Regions from separate parts of the Homo sapiens genome. Here regions 2 and 3 are each linked to region 1. The links are contacts of gene promoters, found by promoter capture Hi-C in human tissues and cell types (Jung and others, 2019). All regions are on one chromosome and are shown on one strand. The core of a region is centred on a gene start or on the middle of the fragment in contact, and the rest is flanking DNA. Distances in the headings are between cores, read along the strand shown. Region 1 holds the start of MERTK (MER proto-oncogene, tyrosine kinase). Region 2 overlaps ACOXL (acyl-CoA oxidase like). Region 3 overlaps BUB1 (BUB1 mitotic checkpoint serine/threonine kinase).

The links. The method cuts DNA at HindIII sites, captures the fragments that hold promoters and counts their contacts. A contact is called where the count stands out against the background at its distance.
Region 2: a fragment that was not itself captured here is called in contact with the fragment with the promoter of MERTK in region 1 in 1 of the 25 tissues and cell types used here (spleen).
Region 3: a fragment that was not itself captured here is called in contact with the fragment with the promoter of MERTK in region 1 in 1 of the 25 tissues and cell types used here (aorta).

Annotation. Positions count from the first base shown.
Region 1 is chr2:111,897,357-111,900,056 of GRCh38, forward strand. It overlaps MERTK (MER proto-oncogene, tyrosine kinase), which reads left to right and starts at 1,251. Exons shown (of 19, transcript NM_006343.3): 1 at 1,251-1,440. The coding sequence starts at 1,380. RefSeq lists an enhancer at 390-719. The HindIII fragment of the contact is 10,682 bases long and covers 1-2,700 here.
Region 2 is chr2:110,867,351-110,870,050 of GRCh38, forward strand. The region is part of intron 10 of ACOXL (acyl-CoA oxidase like); the gene reads left to right. Among named protein-coding and RNA genes, the nearest start is that of ACOXL, 140 kb to the left of the region's middle. RefSeq lists enhancers at 1-252, 1,737-2,347. The HindIII fragment of the contact is 3,359 bases long and covers 1-2,700 here.
Region 3 is chr2:110,642,722-110,645,421 of GRCh38, forward strand. The region is part of intron 19 of BUB1 (BUB1 mitotic checkpoint serine/threonine kinase); the gene reads right to left. Among named protein-coding and RNA genes, the nearest start is that of SNORD132, 14 kb to the right of the region's middle. The HindIII fragment of the contact is 4,918 bases long and covers 1-2,700 here.

The sequences.
Region 1 (2,700 bases), core at 1-2,500:
TTGCTGTCGGTGTAAGTAATAACCTGTCTAAACCCATCTGGGCTGCCTGTCTCCTTCCCGTAGCCAAATCTACGGGAAGTGTCCAGCCAGTGTAGGGGTCAAGGGACCGCTTGACGAGACCAACGTAAATTGAAGAGGCGTAAGGAGATGAGGCCAAAGAGGAAAGGGGACCAGGTCACGTAGAACCTCGTAGACCACTGCAGAACCTTGGCTTACGTACGCAGAGACAGCAGGAACCACTGATAGGTTTAGGGAGATTTGAGGAGAGGGACATGATTTGGCTTATGTTATGTTGTTAAAGGGACCACATTAAAATACATTCATTCTAAAAGTGTTACCTTTAAGAAACTACGTATATAAATTAAGTTACTGTTGCCATTATTAGCGTAAGTAGTTACATTTCTCTTACGACTCACTCTCTGCTACTGCCTCTTGGACCCTGCACACCTTGTGGAGGCCCATGAGAGTGACGTGCTGTGGTTCCCCCTCTCCCCACTCCTGCTCTGCACTTTGTCATTCACGTTCATCTCCCTCCTTGAGTGTCACCTCTCTCTGGCTCGTCACGGAGCCACGGCAAAGCGTCCTTTCCCAGGAACCCCTCCCCCTGGGGAGGTGAGCTCCTCGCCGCCAGGGCCGTGTCGCGCACCTCGGGCCGGGTACCCAGGCGGCGCTCGGCGGCGAGCGGAATGGATGTGGAGGAGCGCTCGGCAGGGAGCGCTGCCGCCCTGGCCTTGGCCTCTGGGAGCGGCGCGGCCAGGGTTTTCTGTGTCAGCCAAGCCCGGAATGCGGGGGCGCCTCTGGACCCTCCTCTTGGGTCTGGGGGCTGCCTCGGGCATCCTCTACTCCTCTCCCACCTTCTGTCCTTCCCCATCTCCCACCCACACGTGTGGGGCCCCGGACCCGCGCAGCGGCCAGAGCCTTCCGCTGTGGACCTCCAGTCCACCCCTCCCCTTCACTTCTCTTTCCGGCTCCCTCCGGGTCTCTCAGCCCCCTCCCCTTCCTCTCCGCCCCCTTCCCCGCCGTCTGCCCAGCGGCGGCCTTCGGCCCGCCCCTTCTCTCCAACCCCCTCCCTTTCCCCTTTACGCCCCTCCTCCCCCTCGTCCTCCCGCCCCCTCCCACCCCAACCTGCTGGGCCCGCCGGGACTCGCCCCCCTGCCCGCTCCTCTCCTCCAGCCCCGGCCGGCCTCGGCTCGGCCCCCGGCCCGCCCCTTCCAGCCCTCGGCACCTCCCGCCGGCCGCTTGGCTCCGCCACTCGGCACTCACTGCCCGGGCCGCCCGGACAGGGAGCTTCGCTGGCGCGCTTGGCCGGCGACAGGACAGGTTCGGGACGTCCATCTGTCCATCCGTCCGGAGAGAAATTACAGATCCGCAGCCCCGGGATGGGGCCGGCCCCGCTGCCGCTGCTGCTGGGCCTCTTCCTCCCCGCGCTCTGGCGTAGAGGTGAGTGCGCCCGGCTGGGGGCCAGGCGAGGGGGTGGGGGCTCCCAGGAGGAAGCAGGGGCCTCTGGGGAGGGAGCGCGTCCACAGGGGCGCGCCTGGCTGCTGGACAAGTTTGCAAACACCCTCCACCCACTGCGGTGCCAGAGGAGGGGGCGTAGGCGAACCTACCGTCCACTGACCGCGGCGCCTCAAGCGTCCCGAGGGCACCCAGCCTGGCTTGCGGGTGCGCATCGTGGTGAAGCCGGGTCGGGGTCGGCGTTGCAGGCTCCCCTCTTCACCGCAGAGGAGGAAATCGAGCTCGGCCGGGCGCGCTGCAAGTCCTGAAGTTCCGACGAGTGGAACGTAGGTAGCAGGTCTGGTCTGGGATGCGACGAGAACTTTCCACTAGAGTTGCATGGTGGGGCCCCGCTCTGGCCGGAGTCCCGGGGGCCACAGATCCGGTCTCCCGAGGGACCGGCGCGGGGCGAACGAACGGGCTGCGGGAGTCGGAGCCGCAGTCCGGGAGCCGCGATAGACTGAGGCCGAGCGACGGGCCAGGGGGGGACGGCAGTCCTGGCTGCTCCCAATGGGCCCTTACGGGCATTATTAGTATCCCTTTTTAGGGGCACCCAGAGAGTGTGGGAAAAGGGGAGCGTTCTTTTCACTCCTGTTATGGCAGAACAGAACTTACAGTGCTCGGCAGCGTTTACGTTTATCTGGATTCAGCGAAGTGTTGTTACAGGCTTTTTTTTTTTTAATTTGAGACCGAGTCTCGCCCTGTCGCCCAGGCTGGAGTGCCGCGGCGCGATCTCGGCTCACTGCAGGCTCCGCCTCCCGGGTTCAAGCGATTCTCCTGCCTCAGCCTCCCGAGTAGCTGAGACTATAGACGCGCGCTACCACGTCCGGCTAATTTTTGTATTTTTAGTAGAGACGGGGTTTCACCATGTTGGCCAGGATGGTCTCGATCTCTTGACCTCGTGATCTGCTCTCCTTGGCCTCCCAAAGTTCTGGGATTACAGTCGTGAGCCACCGCGCCCGGCTTGTTCCAGGCATTTTAATACAAGATGCTGGACTGATACGTGGAGGCAAGGAAGGCCGGTTTCATTCTGCTTGAACAGCTTATTTGGGGAGTGAGTGATGAACAGATTTCAAGTTTGATCGCTGATGCACTTCTTGAGGAGGCTGGAATAAACTTACCAGGCTTTACCCAAAAGAAAAAGAAAGGGGAAAAATGCTAAATAAACACATTCCAAGTATTTTCTCTCAGCTAAAAGGTTTCTAT
Region 2 (2,700 bases), core at 32-2,531, 1.0 Mb before region 1:
GGCAGGCACTGACTAGGGGCATAGATCCTTCTGCATCTCTCTGTGTCCATCCATCATTCTGTGCACACTTTGGCACTTCTGGAGAACTTGTTCTCTTCCAGACTCTGAAAGTCAGTGACTAATAAGATGTGGCCCCCTGATCACTGGCATCTGTAGACTGCTGAATGGTGTCTTGGATAAAGTATGTGCCCATTTATTTTTCTTGCATGATGAATAATCGGTCTGAAAGGAAACAAAGTCCTGTTTGGACAGGGCTCAGGAAGGTGAGAAGGTCTGGGTGGGGACTGGAGGGCCAATAAGGACTTCTTTTGAATTCCAGGTGTCAAAGGAGTCTTTGCGTTTTAGAAATTAGGAGATCAATATTAAATACCTTTTGGTGTGTAGCAAAAAGTTGACATGAAAAAGCAACTCAAAAATTGCTTTTTTTTTTGAGATGGAGTTTTGCTCTGTCACCCAAGCTGGAGTGCAGTGGCATGATCTCGGCTCACTGCAAGCTCTGCCTCTTGGGCTCACGCCATTCTCCTACCTCAGCCTCCCGAGTAGCTGGGATTACAGGTGCCCACCACCACGCTCAGCTAATTTTTGTATTTTTAGTAGAGACAGGGTTTAACCATCTTGGCTAGGCTGGTCTTGAACTCCTGACCTCGTGATCCACCCGCCTCAGCCTCCCAAAGTGCTGGGATTACAGGTGCAAGCCACCACGCCCGGCCAAAAATTGCTATTCTTGATAGAAATGCAGGGGAACTGATTTATTTACACTTGTATATTTTTTGCAGACTACATTTTTGTGTAACGAATTTCATGTAGTCAATGGAGAAAAGGTAGCTAAGCTTTGGAAACATCTCAAGTATAAATAAAGTGAGAACCACACTATGAAGCGAGTTTCTAAATGAAACTTACTTTACAAGTTTGATTTTTTGGGGCTGCTCTGTCTGGTGTTATCATTTTCCTTAATTCCTGCAGGGATTGTCATTTGTGGCACCAGAGTCTTTTCTCTGGATCTGGGTGCTCTGGTTTCTGGCTCAGGATTGGCTGATGCACCTTTTCTTCTTGGGAAAAGGAGCCTGCCATCAACAGTGCATGTGAGCAATTGATTCCTTTGGCAGGAACGCTCTTCTCTATCGACCCACGTGAATCTATTGGTTTTCAGATCACAACCAGCTGGCCTGGTCTTTGTTTTCCATTCTCTTCTTCTAGTACACACATCTTATTCATTTTTCTCAGCATTGCTCCACTAGAATTTCTTTTCTTTTTTCAAAACAGTGCCTCACTCTGTTTCCCAGGCTGGAGTGCACTGGTGCAACCCCAGCTCACTGCAGCCTCAACTTCCCAGGCTCAGGTGATTCTTTCACCTCAGCCTCCCGAGTAGCTGGTACTACAGCCATGTGCCACCATGCCCAGCTAAATGTTTTGTATTTTTAGTAGAGATGGGGTTTCACCATGTTGCCCAGGCTGGTCATGAATTCCTGGGCTCAAGTGATCCTCCCACCTCAGCCTCTCAATGTGTTGGGATTGCAGGCGTGAGCCACTGCTTCCAGCCTGGAGTTTCTTATGTTGCTAATATATAGGCAAGGCTGATGTATTTTCCAAAATGCTCCCTCTGGAAAATGCACCCTCATGTTCATGGGGGTGACATTGTGACAGTGGCAGCTAACATTTCTTGGGTGGTTGCCATGGTCCAGATGCTACTCTGAGCACCTTAACTACATTACTTACTTTTATCGTCACAATTCTGGGAGTAGGTACTGTTTGCCCTCTTTGTAGCTGAAGTGTCTGAAGCACAGAGAGGGTAGGCCACATGGCCGATGTCACACAGCTAGGAGATGGTAAGCTTCTCCCCTATTTGTGCTCTCACTCTCAACCCTGGGGCCCACCGGCATTGTGAATACTCAGCATTTCAAGTCTCATCCCTGGGGAAGGCTGTGTGTATTGTAAATCCCGTATCAATGCAGTCGTTGTTGGCATTGTTTAGGCATGTATCAGAGCCACACACACTTCCAGACTGTGTGTCAAAAGGTCCCAGAAAACTGCATTTCTGTGTTCTGTCACCCCAAAGGCCTTGCTGAGTATGTAGTTTCACCTTTTGTTTAACCTTCTGTTTGGAGGCTCACTGGCCACAATGGCAAATGTGTGGTGGGTGAGCTTCCTGGCGGGGATGTATTCTCTCCTGCTCCCAGGGGCACATGCCAGCACTCTCCAGCGCTGGGGCTCGCATCTCTTCCAGCAAGGCCAGGCCAGGCTCTGAGTGCATCTGTGTCATGCTGGAGTCCCTGCAAGCCCTGTGCTTGCCCAGGTGACCCTCCCCTTATTCATTGGCCACAAGAGGCAAAGTAGCCAGTGAGTCATTCGAGCCCATAGCATCTGTCTCCAGAGCCCACACCCTGAGCCACTGTGCTCTCTTGGCCCTCAGCCACCTTGGAGAGCTGCCACTGCCCCTTGCCGTCCTCCTGGCCACAGAAGACTCCTCCTCCAGAGGCAAGGCAGCTGGTGCCCCTTCCTGTGTGAACCTAGCCACTGCCAGCCCCTACCCAGATACCCTCCATTGTCAGATGGGCCTAACCTTCTAATCAAAGGTCTGGATGGGACTGCTCAGGGCCACCTTCAGGCAAGTGGCTTGTAATGGATTCACCGAGCATGTGGGTCTCACAGAGCCTTTTAGAAAACGTGGGTGATTCCTTCACAGCCTATTTAAACCCATGG
Region 3 (2,700 bases), core at 197-2,696, 1.3 Mb before region 1:
CTTGCTGTTGCCCAGTCTGGGTTGCTGTGGCAAGGTAATAGCTCACTCCAGCTTTGACCTCCTGGGCCCAAGTGATCCTCCCACCTCAGGCTCCTGAGAAGCCAGGACCACAGGCGTGCACCACCATGCCCAGCTAATTCTTAAATTTTTTGTAGAGATGGGGTCTTACCATGTTGCCCAGGCTTGTCTCAAATTCCTGGCTTCAAGTGATCCTCCTGCCTTGGCCTCCCAAAGTGTTGGGATTACAGGAGTGAGCTAACACACCTAGACTGTACTAGTAGATTTTTAAATTAAATTAAAAACAAGAATTCACATGTTCAAAATCAGATGTAAAGTAGTAGATTTCTGGTTCCTGGTCCAGCATATGAGGAGCTTGGAGTCATCACTCCACCCTCACAGTAAGCCAAATGGCTGAAAATCAACGACGCTTCTGAGATCCATTAGAGAACTGAGGTCAAAGGACAATCTGCTTCCTCCAAAATTAGAGACAGACAAGTGGACGCAGAGAATCACAGCTTGCCAAACTAGAAGCCCAGGAACAGAAACCACTGCTGGAACCAGTACTGGGGGAGTTATAATGTAAAGAACTGCACATCTGAGACCTTATTTAAAAAGTCCGTAGGGAAACCCAAAGATAACAGGGGAAACAAAAAAATAAGGACACATAGGGCAATTATAGCCTCTTATGTAGTGACAGCAAACAGTAAACACAGCCTAACCCATAGGCAGATTAAGCATGAAAGCTCACACTAAAGGTCTATTTAATCCCATTTCCTTTTAGCTCATATATTAGGTCTGGCTCTTAACAAAAACTCACAAGGCATAGTAAAAGACAAAAATCACAGCCTGAAGAGCCAGAGTAAGCATCAGAAACAGACACACATATGGCAGAGATTTTAGAATTATCAGACTAGGATTTTGTTGTTTGTGTTTTTAGAGATAGGTTCTCACTCTGTCACCCAGGCTAGAGTGCAGTAGCATGAACATAGCTCACTACAGCCTCAAACTCCTGGGCTCAAGTGATCATCCTACCTCAGCCTCCCAAAGTGGTGGGATTATAGGAATGAGCTACCATGCCAGGCCCACACTAGAAATTTTTTTTTTAATTCTAATTGACATGCTAAGGGTTCTAATGAAAAAGGTAGACAGTGTGCAAGAAGAAATGGGTAATACAGGCAGAGAGAAACTGAGAAGCAAAAAAAGGTGCTAGAAATAAAAACCCACTGTAACAGAAATAAAGAATGCCTTTGATTGACTCACCAATAGACTATACATGGCAGGGAAAAGAATCAGTGAGCTTGAAGATAGGCCAATAAAAACTTCCAAAACTGAAATGCAAAAAAAAAAAAAAAAAAAAAAATAGAAAGAAATAGATAGAATAGAGTATTTAAGGAATGTGGGACAACTACAAAATGTATAACAGATGTAGAATGGGAATACCAGAAGGAAGAAGGGAGAAAGGAACAGACAAAAATATCTGAGGCCGGGTGCAGCGGCTCACACCTGTAATCCCAGCACTTTGGGAGGCCATGATGGGCGGATCACTTGAGGTCAGGAGTTCAAGGCCAACATGATGAAACCCCATCTCTACAAAAAATACAAAAAATTAGCCGGGTATGGTGGTGGGCATCTGTAGTCCCAGCTACTCGGGAAGCTGAGGCAGTAGAATTGCTTAAACCCTGGAGGCGGAGGTTGCAGTGCACCAAGATTGTGCCACTGCACTGTAGCCTGGGCAAAAAAGAGCAAAACCCCGTCTCAAAAAAAAAAAAAAAAAAAATTGAAGTAATAATAGCAGAGAATTTTCCAAAATTAATGATAGACACCAAACCACAGATCCAGGAAGCTTAGAGAGCACCAAGCAGGATAAATACTGAAAAATCAACATCTAGGCATATCATATTCAAACTGCAGAAAAAGACACAGAGAAAATATTCAAAGAAGCAAGACAAAACCATCTTACCTATAGAGGAGCAAAGATAAGAATTACACAGGACTTCTCAGAAACCATGCAAGCAAGAAGAGAGTGGAGTGAAATATCTAAAGTACTTAGAAATTTGGAATCCACCAATCTAGAATTCTGTATCCAGTAAAATTATCCTTCAAATGTGAAGAATAAAAATTTTCTTACACAAGCAAAAAAGATTAGTTGTGATGTATATTGCAAACACTAGGTTAACCACTTAAAAAAATTTTAAAAGAAGTATAATTAATACACTGAGAGGAGACAAAATGGAATTATGAAAGAACTCAAAATCAGAGAAGGAAGAAAGAGAATAGCAGACAAAGAAAGAACAAGGGCAAGGAGTAGAAAACAAATATAGTGACAATCCAATTATATCAATAATCACTTTAAATATCAGTGGTCTAAATATACCAATCAAAACAAAGACATACTTTAAATACCAAGACAGATGAAAAGTAAAGGGATAAGCCCAGGTGCGGTGGCTCACACTTGTAATCTCAGCACTTTGGGAGGCCAAGGAAGGCGGATCACCTGAGGTCAGGAGTTTGAGACCAGCCTGACCAATATGGTGAAACCCTGTCTCCAAAAAAAATACAAAAATTAGCTGGGCGTGGTGGTGTGCGCCTGTAGTCCCAGCTACTCAGGAGGCTGAGACAGGAAAATCACTTGAACCTGGGAGGCGGAGGTGGCAATGAGCCAAGATCATAGTACTACGGCACTACACTCCAGCCTGGGTG